Linked DNA regions of Homo sapiens: region 2 is linked to region 1. The links are contacts of gene promoters, found by promoter capture Hi-C in blood cells and fetal thymus (Javierre and others, 2016). All regions are on one chromosome and are shown on one strand. The core of a region is centred on a gene start or on the middle of the fragment in contact, and the rest is flanking DNA. Distances in the headings are between cores, read along the strand shown. Region 1 holds the start of RAP1GAP (RAP1 GTPase activating protein). Region 2 holds the start of LDLRAD2 (low density lipoprotein receptor class A domain containing 2).

What was found. The method cuts DNA at HindIII sites, captures the fragments that hold promoters and counts their contacts. A CHiCAGO score of 5 or more calls a contact.
Region 2: a contact is called between the fragment with the promoter of LDLRAD2 here and the fragment with the promoter of RAP1GAP in region 1, in 1 of 17 cell types (erythroblasts). The highest score is 5.6, in erythroblasts.

The regions. Positions count from the first base shown.
Region 1 is chr1:21,665,776-21,671,263 of GRCh38, reverse strand. It overlaps RAP1GAP (RAP1 GTPase activating protein), which reads left to right and starts at 1,907. Exons shown (of 25, transcript NM_002885.4): 1 at 1,907-2,010. RefSeq lists enhancers at 1-1,187, 4,706-5,206 and a silencer at 1,836-1,985. The HindIII fragment of the contact is 8,301 bases long and covers 366-5,488 here.
Region 2 is chr1:21,808,975-21,814,428 of GRCh38, reverse strand. LDLRAD2 (low density lipoprotein receptor class A domain containing 2) reads right to left here and starts at 2,164. Exons shown (of 5, transcript NM_001013693.3): 1 at 1,893-2,164; 2 at 1-31. The coding sequence starts at 1,977. RefSeq lists an enhancer at 2,079-2,373 and a silencer at 3,528-3,678. The HindIII fragment of the contact is 31,080 bases long and covers 1-2,999 here.

The sequences.
Region 1 (5,488 bases), core at 658-3,157:
CACCATCATCCCCAGAAGCGCCTCGGCCAGCCTCATTCAACTTCTTGCCTTTTTATTACAGTGTTTGAGCCAACTATATAGTCCTGGTGTATTCCTAGGCAGGAGATCAAAGGGCCCCCCGGGTTGGGTGGTCCATGAGTGAGCATGTGATACCGCAGGAGTCTTCCTCCTGCCCTGACAACTTGCCTTGTACTACCAGTGCTGCTCAGGATGTCTGCAGCCACGAAGCTTCATTATAAATGCAGGAGCTCAGGCTCCAGGCCCACTGAATCTGAATCTGAGTCTACAGACCGCTCCTGCACTCTTAGAAGTTTGAGAAACCCCCCTGGGCTGGGGTCTCTTTCCCATATACAGCTAGGGAAGCTTGCTGGAGGGAGGACTGAAAAGAACAAGTGCCTGATCTACCTTCCCCTCTGCCCTTTCACAGGTGGGTGGATGCGTGGGAAGAGGGTGGGGCATTTCCTGCTATTCCCCCTTATTCACCTTTTCTCCACGGGGATTAGAGTCTTGACCGGAAAACATGGCTCTGGTCCCCAGCCCCTATGGGACTGAAAACCCGGAGGCTTGCATGTCTCAGATCCTCCAGAGGCTGATGTAAGAGTTGCTGAAGACCTCGGATCTTTCCTTTTGTGAAATGCAGCCCATGTGGCCGGGAAAATAGTGGGAGCTGGAAGTAACAGTTGTGGTTTTAAGCACACAGTAGATGCTCAAGAAATATATTGAGTACATGTCTTGGACTTTCCCCTCCCTAAATATTATCTGTCAAGTGGGCCTATTGGACTTGTTGACCTTGGAGGGCCCTGTCGGCTTGACCCACCAATTCGAAATGGTTGAGAAAGAGGTCTGTCTTTGTACCTTTTGCAGCCTGTTTTCCCAGTTCTTAGAACATTGGGGTGAGATCCAGAGATTTCAGAGATCCCCCTGGAACACGAGTGTTCTGTGACGAGTTCATGACCTTGGAGCCACCAACCATACCCCTCACCCGTTGTCCCCAGTTCTGGCCTTGCCGACCCACTGCGTGTTTCTTTGCTTCATGTGGGCTGTTCCCCGGGGAGGGAGCTCAGTGGAGAACAGAAAGAGGTGTGGGTGAGGGCTCCCCCTTGGTGGGGAGTGGGGCACAGGAGCCTCAGGCTCTGTTGACCATCAAAGAAGGGACTCGAGTGGGCAGGCCGCTCACTTGCTGTGGACCTTGGGCAAGTCTCTAACTCTCCCTGGGCCTTGGAAGTCAGGCCGAGGTGATCTCTGCCGCCCCCTCCCTGCCTGGGTTTTCACTCTTGTTCTGATCCCACTCTCTTCCGGGTGCCTCCCTTCCACTTCTCCGTAGCCTGTGGCTCCCCTCCCCACACCCGCCCTGGGCCCGGGTTAGGCTGGGGCGGGGGCGAGCTGCCCAGTCCAGAGACAAAGTCCAAGAGCCGCGAATGGGCTGGCGAGGGTCAACCGCGTGGCCTCTGCCAGGAAGCGCGCCGAGCGCCCGGGTGAGGAGGGCGTCAGCCAGGGCACAGCAGCTTTCTCGCCCAGCGAAGCCTGTGCGCCTTCCTCCCGCGCCTGCAGACAAGCGGAGCCCATGGGGGCCGTGGGCCCCACCTATCCCGACGTCTCCACTTGATCCAGAAGTTGTCCCAGTCCCCTTGGAGCATGAGCTGTTGCCTGGACAGCTGGGCTGTCGCCCAGGTTCTGCCACTGTCTAGCTGTGTAACCTTGAGCCAGTCCCTGCCCCTCTCTGGTCCTCAGTTTCCCCACCTGTAAAATGGGGGCACCGAGAACCCTCCTCCAGGACCTGCGGCGGGGCGGGGCGGCAGGGCGGGGGCCTCCCCGCCGCTCCCGCGCCCGCGGCTTGGGCTCCGCAGTGAGTGGGGAGCGGCGCCGGGGAAGGAGCGCTCCGCGGTCATGTGACGTCCCCCTCCCCGAACTGCGGCGGCGGCGAGCGCCGGCCGCATCTGAGCAGAGCTGCAGCGGCGGCCGCGGGCACCAGAGTGCCGAGCCCAGGACGCCCCCGGCCCAGGCCCTTGGGTGAGTGCGCCCCGCCAGGGCTGCGGCCCTGGAAAGGGGAAGGGGACAGAGGTGTCCAGACTCCCGTCGGCTCGCAGCGAAGACCCCGCGCGGGCGGGCGGGGACGGAGGGTGGGGGCGAACGCGTGGGGGACCCGGGTCTCCAGGGGCGAGGGGTGGGCGCAGCTGGGCTCGCGCAGCCCGGTCTTGACAGCAGCTGGAGAAGTGGGGGGAGGCCTGGACTGAGCCGGCTGAACCCCCAGCCTGTTGGACTTGGTCCAGGCCGCGGCCAGGGGGCTTTGGTCCCACCCCCCTGGGTGGGTGGGGAGTCCAGTTTTCCGCCCACCTCGAGGTGGGGGCGCCTGGGGTTTAGAGGAGGGACTGTGGGAAGTGGGCGCGTTTCCTCCATCCCTGGGGAGGGGCCCAAGCCCTAGCGCCCCCCAGAGGGTGGCGCTCCTGTCCTCAGAGGAGGGAAGTGGGGGCCTCAGATCAAGGACCCTGAGCGGGGAGGGCGGTGATGTCCTTGCATCCCCAGAGACAGGACGCATTCCCCTGTCCCTGACCCCCGCGGCAGAGCGGGGCACACGCGTCACGAAGTTGGGCGCCCCCTCGTCGCCTCCCCTGGCTCGGCAGGATCTGAGGACTCGGTGGGAATTCACGGGGCGGTTTCCGTGCCCTGCAGGGTTTGGTGCCAGCTGCGGGGCGCCTGGGCTTGGGGAAGAAACCTTGTGTACGCACACCTGCACACACACACAGTCTCCGGAGGTGAGCGGCCCCCTCCCTACCATAACAGACCCCAGCCTGTGCATGCCCTCGGAGTCCTTGTTGGGGTCATAGCACAGGCCCGGTGGTGGGGTCAGGAAGAACATCCACTGTTCTCAGGGCTCATTGGCCTCTGTCCCCGGGCTCCATTCCCCTCCCTGCCAAGTCAGAGGTCAGGCCCCTGGGGCGGCAGGCAGGAAGGACACTGAGGGAAGGGGCACTGAGGCAGGAGGGGCACTGAGGGAAGCTGGCCAGGTGGAAGTAGGAGAGAAAGGCAATGGGGGTGAGATGGTACCACTTCCTCCCCATATGAGGCTCTCAGGAGGCTCCTGGCCCCCCCTGCACAGGTAGTGGTCCCTCCTTCCTGAGGGTGTTTGGGGGAAAACGCTATGGTTGGGGCACTGGGGAAGGTTGCCTCGCAGATGAAACAGAACATTGGCCAAAGGTGTCCCTGAATGGGCTTCTGGACTGGCACAGGGCCCTGAGGGCTGTGGCTGAGTGGGGAGGCAGTGATCAGGTCCAGCTGGCCATGGGGGCCCCCCATTCCCTTCTCCATGACCTCAGCCTCACTCTGAGAGCCCCCAGCAGCTGGAAGGTCTGGTAAGGGGTGCGTGTTCCTTGATGGCCTTGGGAAGGGTTCCAGGGTAATGATTAATCCTCAGGTGGCACGAGCAATTTCCCCCTTCACAGCAATATTTCAGGGCAGGCGCTGAAGCCTCCATTGCACAGGTGAGGAAACTGAGGCTCGGAGAGGCTAAATGAACTGCCTGAGGTCACCTAGTCACCTTCAGCAAGGTCTAGAATCGTGGTACTCTGACTCTTGATGGGAGAAGATCTCCACAGCGGTGGAGAGGAGGAAGGGTGAACGCCGTGGTGGAGTGGTCCATGTGGACCTGCTCCCCTTTGCTGCCAGGAGGTGAGGGTGCCTGTGGCTGGAAGCTGGGTCAGGTTGAGGAGAGGGTCCAGAGTCCTAGGCTTGCCTTGCCACCCCTTCCCATGGAGGGAGGGTTGTCCCGTGGAGCACCATAATGGTGCTTTCACCCTGGGACCTTCCCAGCTTGCTTGGGCAAAGCCCTCTCCTCTTCTCTTCTTCCCAAGGTGCCTGCCTGGCAGGGGTCTCAGGAGGCCCCTCTCCTGGCTCTAACTACCTTCCACCCTTAGGAGACAAGAAGGATTCTTCCTTTGGCCTCTTGGAGGGCAGCAGGGAGAGAGGTCTCTGCCACTTAGGCCTCAGGCTCCCACAGCAGGGCCTCCACCTCCCTCTCACCTGGCCCTGCCCCTGCCCTGCTGTCAAATTCTGGGGCCAAGAGGCCCTTTGAGGACTCCTCGGGCAGATCTGTCCTCCATGCTGCCATCTGTCTACGGAGGCCTTTGTCCTGGCTGTCAGAGGCTGCTGAGCAGCCGCATGTGCTGTGCAAACAACCGAGACCTGAGCACGGCCAGACACAAACGCAAATACAGTTAGACTGACAGATACCCTGAGACCCAGACACAGGAACACACGGGCACACCCAGGCCAAGACCCCTGCCCCCGACTCTGCCTGACACACAAGCACTGAGAGTCACACCATCCAGATGCTGGCACGTGTGTACACACAGAGAGACGGAGGTTGTCAGCAAGGAGAAGAGCCTTTTCAGAAGCCCTCGTCTTCTGTCGTCTGCCTCCATTATCTCCTCCAGGGTGCACACATGGTACACGCGCATGCAGGAAGAACACGAGGATGCCCTACGCCCTTAAAAATGAACCTGGCAGACACGCACATGCACCCACCCACACCCAGGCCATCATGGGTGCACACACGCATGAATTACATCAGCTTCCTGCGTGTGGGATGTTAATGCTTCATCACCCGGGGAGGGGAGTGGAGGCCCCCGACCGTCCCCAGCAAAGCCTCCCCTTCCTCCCTCTTTTCTGATTCATGTGGACCCAGCTTGACTGGCCCCAAGAATCCTGGGAAACTGCCTGGTGCTTCCCACTCAGTGGACCCTCCTCTCCTGCCTCCCCTCTGTGTACATACCCAGCGGGTTGCCACGGGAGCCTCTCCCCAGGCTGCTCCTTTGCTGTCTCTGAAGGTGTTGTTCTGCAGGTCCTTCCCAAGACAGGACAGGACCCAGTGCAGGCTCCAAGCGGCTCTGGGGTTCCCTTTCCTTTCCACTTTTGCTAGAGGCATTACCAGGCCCCAGTTTCTGCTTTGTCCTCCCAGCAAGGCTGGGGGCCAGCTGGTGTGAAGGGAAGGGAGCCCTCAGCACTCTCTGCTCACCTCCTTGCATGCCAGGACCTCTGCCAGGCTGGCCCTGGCACCCTGTGCCTCTGAGAGACTGGCGCTGTGGAGAGGTGCTTCTGTGGGCTTAGGTGAGGCCTCCAGGGCAGACATGCTAGATGGGGAGGGGCTCCCAGCTCCACCATGCTCCCTCGGCACTCACACCAAGCCTGCCAGAGTGCTGATTCCCTGTCCAAGCCTGGCCCTGCCTCTTGCTGGCTGTGTGGCCCGGACAAGTCATTTTCCCTCTCTGGGCCCAGCTCCAGCTCTGGGAGGCAGCTCAGCCTGGCTGGGGGATGAGGAAAGTCAGAGGTGTGAGGTGGCAGCCCTGTGCCAATAAGGAAAGGAAGTTGGGCTCTGGTGGCAGTGTGGGCCCATGGGGCCCCAGGCTGATGACTTCCTGCAGAGTGCAGCCTCTGGATCCACACTAGGGCCAAGCAGGGGTCGCCAGTCTCAGGGCTTCTTGGGGCGGCCACC
Region 2 (5,454 bases), core at 915-3,414, 140 kb before region 1:
CACGTCTGCCCGCACAGTTCCGCCAGGTCGGCTGCAGCGGAAGGCACGGAAACTGGAGCCGCGCGGCGCGACCCCGAACTCTACTCTGTCCCCTGCCCGCTGTGTGATCCCAAGCGAGTTACTCGCCCTCTCTGAGCCTCATTTTCCTCATCGGTAAAATGGGGATGATTAATCAATCTCAGAATGATTGTAAGGATTAAATGATTTAATTTAATTTAATTCAAATCTACAATCCCTTATTCGAAACCCTAAGATGCGGGGCCGAGCGCAGTGGCTCACGCCTGTAATCCCAGCACTTTGGAGGCCAAGGCAGGTGGATCACCTGAGGTCAGGAGTTCGAGACCAGCCTGGCCAACATGGTGAAACCCCATCTCTACTAAAATACAAAAAATTAGCCGGGCATGGTGGTGCGCACCTGTAATCCCAACTAATCGAGAGGCTGAGGATGAGAATCGCGTGAACTCTGGAGGCGGAGGTTGCAGTGAGCTGAGATCAAGCCACTGCACTCCAGCCTGGGTAACACAGCGAGACTCCGTCACCAAAAAAAAAAAAGGGGAGGGGGAGAGCTGTGTGATAAGGAGCCCCTTTTCTTCCTGCTTTTGAAAGCTGCTGACTGAGGATGAGGATGGGATGTCCAGAGCTGCAGCAGCCATTTTGCAAAGATGAGGTCAGAGCATTTCAGAGGAACAGTGACATTGTTGAGCCGTTGAGTTAACCATCTCTGGAATCACCTATGACCACTCTTAACTGAAATAGCAAATATCCTACCATTTAAGCCCCATTTAGTTTGTTATCTGTTACTTACAGCCCAAAACATCCTCACTGGTACAGGGTTGTTGTGAGGATTAAATGAGAAGATGTGCAAGTACTCAAAGTAGCCCTGATTTCTGTAAGCACAGAGAGGAAAGAGGAGGTGGGTTTTCTGGTGCAAGATAGGGACCAGTGGGTACTTGAGGACCAGCCAGGATGTGGGTCTTTGAGGAAAAAATCCTTCATCAGAGCTCAGGATGTGGGAGCACTTTCCAATATTTGGTATTTCTCTGCTAAAGCCAGAGCCTACCCTGAAGGTACACAGGGCAGGCATGGAGTTTAGAGAGTAAGGGAATTGGGCACCCTTTTTTTTTTTTATTTCTTTGAGACGGAGTCTCTCTCTGTTGCCAGGCTGGAGTGCAGTGGCGCAATCTCGGCTCACTGCAGCCTCCGACTCCCTGGTTCAAGCGATTCTCCTGCCTCAGCCTCCCAAGTAGCTGGGATTACAGGCACATGCCACCATGCCCAGCTAATTTTTGTATTTTTAGTAGAGATGTGGTTTCACCATGTTGGCCAGGATGGTCTTGATCTCGTGACCTCATGATCCGCCCGCCTCGGCATCACAGAGTGCTGGGATTACAGGCGTGAGCCACTGCGCCCAGCCGGGAATTTGGCACCTTTTATGTGCCAGGTATTATGAAGTGCCTTGCATGACTTATCTCATCTTATATGCCAATAATCATAGTCCCTTAAGGGGCAAGGGCCTATTATTTTCATTTTACTGCCAAAGAAATTCAGAGAGTTGAAACAATGATCTCAAAGGTACAAACATAAGAAGTGGCAGAGTGTGTAAATGCAGCTTCTCTGAATCCGAAGCCTACAGAGTTTTGCAAAGCAGGCCCTGAGGGCTGTCCTGCCCACTCCCAGACTCCTGCTTCTAGGTGACTGGCAGATCCAAGCCTTCCAGAAGGCTTTGGGTTGGATTTGGGGATGCCAAGCAAGACCAGACACAGTTTCCCAGCCTCCCCCAGCTCAAAAGGTCTCAGCCCAGCAGGATGAGTGCTGACTGGGGAAACATAGTCTCTAAGGATGGTGGGGGCCCAAGTCTTCTGGGTGCCCCAACCAAGCCCCCTGATACTTACCTGTCTCCAAAGCAGTTGCAGTCAGGGCGGCTGCCCCCAGCAAGAGCAACCTTTGGGGCAACTGCAGAAGACAACAAGCCTCCATCCAGGCTCTGCTGTGCCCAGCAATGGGGCAGACCCACAGAATCTTCAGCTTGGGGTCTCTGGGGAGACTGGAGTATGGGGCCTGGTCAGGCCAGCAGGGAGGCTGGTGGGACACAAGGAGAAGGGGGAGGCAAGTCTTCACTATGATCTTAGTGCTTTGCCTTCCAGATCCTCTTCATTTGGTTCAGAACTGTGTCCAGGGGTTGCCATGGAGATTTGGAGCAAGGGCTAGAGCCTGGGGAGAGGAGGCAGGGAGGAGATCTGCTCCCCTTCTGCCAGACAGGAACCAGGAAACTCAGATCCGGTTCAGCCATAGGGCTTCTGGGAGGAGGACCCACAGGAAGCCAGATCTGCTACCTTCCTAGATCAGCTGGCCCCTTAGGGACTGAGCTTGAGGGAGGTCCAGGACACCAAAGGAGCCTCTCTGAGGGCCTAGAGAGCAGCAGGCAGAGAAGGAGCACTGGACCAGGAGTCTGCTGTATTACTAACAAGCCATTCCTGCCTCAGGGCCTTTGCACTCATAGATCCCTCTGTCTGGAGTGTTGTCCCCCCATAGCAGTGCACGGCTGACTTCTTCAGGTCATCAGGTTGTGGCTCACATGTTACCTCCACAGACCACACTCTCCTGACCACCTCTCCAACTAAATTAACACTCTCTCTCTTTGTCACTCAATCACATCTCAAATGTATCATCCCAGCACTGTCTGGAATTATTTTGCCTATTCATTTCTTCTTGTATATATTGTCCACTGGCCTCCACTAAAATTATATTCCATGAGTATCTTGTTTACCTCTGAACCCTTATGTCATAGCACAGTCACTGGCACAAGGCAGGCGCCCAGGAAATAATGAAAGAATAAGTGTGTGGCATTGAACAAATGACCCCTTTTTCTGGATTTTACTTTCCCATGTGTAAAATAAATACCCTGGACTAATTCAGACTTTTTCAAAACGTGTTATTAGTAGAACAATTTTTTTTCAAAAGGTATGTTACAAGGAACCTTTATCTATAAAACTGAAGCTTTTCAAGCCCTGGCATCCTTCTCTGGAAAATGGGATAATGATTAATTCCAACCACATAGTTGCATTGTAAGAATTAAGTAACTTGGCCTGGCTTGGTGGCTCATGCCTGTAATCCCAGCACTTTGGGAGGCAGAGGTGGGTGGATCACAAGGTCAGGAGTTCAAGGCCAGCCTGGCCAACATAGTGAAACCCCATCTCTACTAAAAATACAAAAAAAATTAGCCGGGCATGGTGGTGCATTCCTGTAGTCCCAGCTACTCAGGAGGCTGAGGCAGGAGAATCGCTTGAATCCGGGAGGTGGAGGTTGCAGTGAGCTGAGATTGTGCCACTGCACTCCAGCTTGAGCAACAGAGTGAGACTTCATCTCAAAAAAAAAAAAAAAAAAAGAATTAAGTAACTTAATACAAGTGGGGTACTTGGAATAGTGTCTATCATGTAGTAAAGTAACCAATGTATTTCAGCTTGAATGATGATCATTAATGTCATCGTTATTATTTAAGCAGATGTTTCAAGTGTGGGGGAGGGGAGGAGCTAAGCAGCCCAAATTGGCAGTGCCTGAGACACCACCTCAAAATCCCAGGAATCCATGAGAAGGTTAAGACCTCTGGACCTGGCCGGGCACAGTGGCTCACACCTGTAATCCCATCACGTTGGGAGGCCAAGGCAGGCGATCACCTGAGGTTGGGAATTCGAGAGCAGCCTGGCCAGCATGGTGAAACCCCATCTCTACTATAAATACAAATATTAGCCGGGCGTTGTGGCACAGAGGCTGAGGCACAATAATCGCTTGAACCCGGGAGGCGGAGATTGCAGTGAGCCGAGATTGCACCACTGCACTCCAACCTGGGCGATAAAATAAAAAAAAAAAAAAACCCAAAACAAACACCTCTGGACCTATTATTCCCTAACAGCTCTCCCTCCTGGAGCGGTCATTTGATGCAACCTTGATTTCCTACAGTGTATGATGTCCAAATCTGTACCTTGGGGAACTCCAAAAAGACTCAAATCTTCCCTCAGCAAGAATGAATTTATCATGAAGCCCACTGAAGCTTAAACTTCAGAACTCATCACCTGCATGGGATTATATGGTTTTTGTTTTGTTTTGTTTTTGTTTTTGTTTTTGTTTTGAGACTGAGTCTTGCTCTGTCGCCCAGGCTGCAGTGCAGTGGCGCAATCTTGGTTTGTTGCAAGCTCCGCCTCCCGGGTTCACGCCATTCTCCTGCCTCAGCCTCCCAAGTAGCTGGGATTACAGGCACCCGCCATCACGCCCGGCTAATTTTTTGTATTTTTAGTACAGATGGGGTTTCACCGTGTTAGCCAGACTGGTCTTGATCTCCTGACCTTGTGATCCACCCACCTCAGCCTCCCAAAGTGCTAGGATTACAGGCGTGAGCCACCGCGCCCGACCTTTTGTTTGTTTTTTTTTTTTTTTGAGATGGAGTCTCACTCTGTTGCCCAGGCTGGAGTGCAGTGGCATGATCTCAGCTAACTGCAACCTCCCAGGCTGGAGTGCAGTGGCATGATATCAGCTCACTGCAACCTCTGCTTCCCGGGTTCAAGAGATTCTCCTGCCTCAGCTTCCCGAGTAGCTGGAACTACAGGTGTGTGCCACCACACCCAGCTAATTTTTTATTTTTAGTAGAGATGGGGGTTTCACCATGTTGGTCAGGCTGGTCTCGAACTCCTGACCTCAGGTGATCCGCCCACCTCGGCGTCCCAGAGTGCTGGGATTACCGGAGTGAGCCACCGCGCCCGGCCGGGATTATATGTCTTCATAAAATTTGCAAAAGTAAGAATGGTTATAAACTTTCAGTTTTGCAAGATGAAAATGTTTTAGAGATCTGTTGCACAGTACTGTGAAAATACTTAACACTACTGAACTGTACACTTAGAATGGCTAAGACTGGCCAGGTGCAAGGCTCACACCTTTAATCTCAACACTTTGGGAGCCTGAGGTGAGAGGATCGCTTGAAACCAGGAGTTCAAGACCAACCTGGGCCTGTAATCCCAGCACTTTGCCTGAGGTCAGGAGTTCGACAGCAGCCTGGCCAACATGGTGAAGCCCAATCTCTACAAAAAAATACAAAAAATTAGCCAGGCGTGGTGGCACACACCTGTAATCCCAGCTACTCGGCAGGCTGAGGCAGGAGAATCTCTTGAACCCAGGAGGCAGAAGTTGCAGTGAGCCGAGATCGAGCCACTGCACTCCAGCCTGGGCGACAGAGTGAGACTCCGCCTCAAAAACAAAAACAAAAAAGACCAACCTGGCAACATAGCGAAACCCTGTCTCTACAAAAAATTAAAGTTAAAATTAAAAAATTAGGTGGTGCCTACACTCTTAGCTATACTACAGCTACTCAGGAGGCTAAGGCAGAAGGATCACTTGAGCCCAGAAGCTTGAGGTTACAGTGAGCTATGATCATGACACTGCACTCCAGCCTAGGCAACAGAGCCG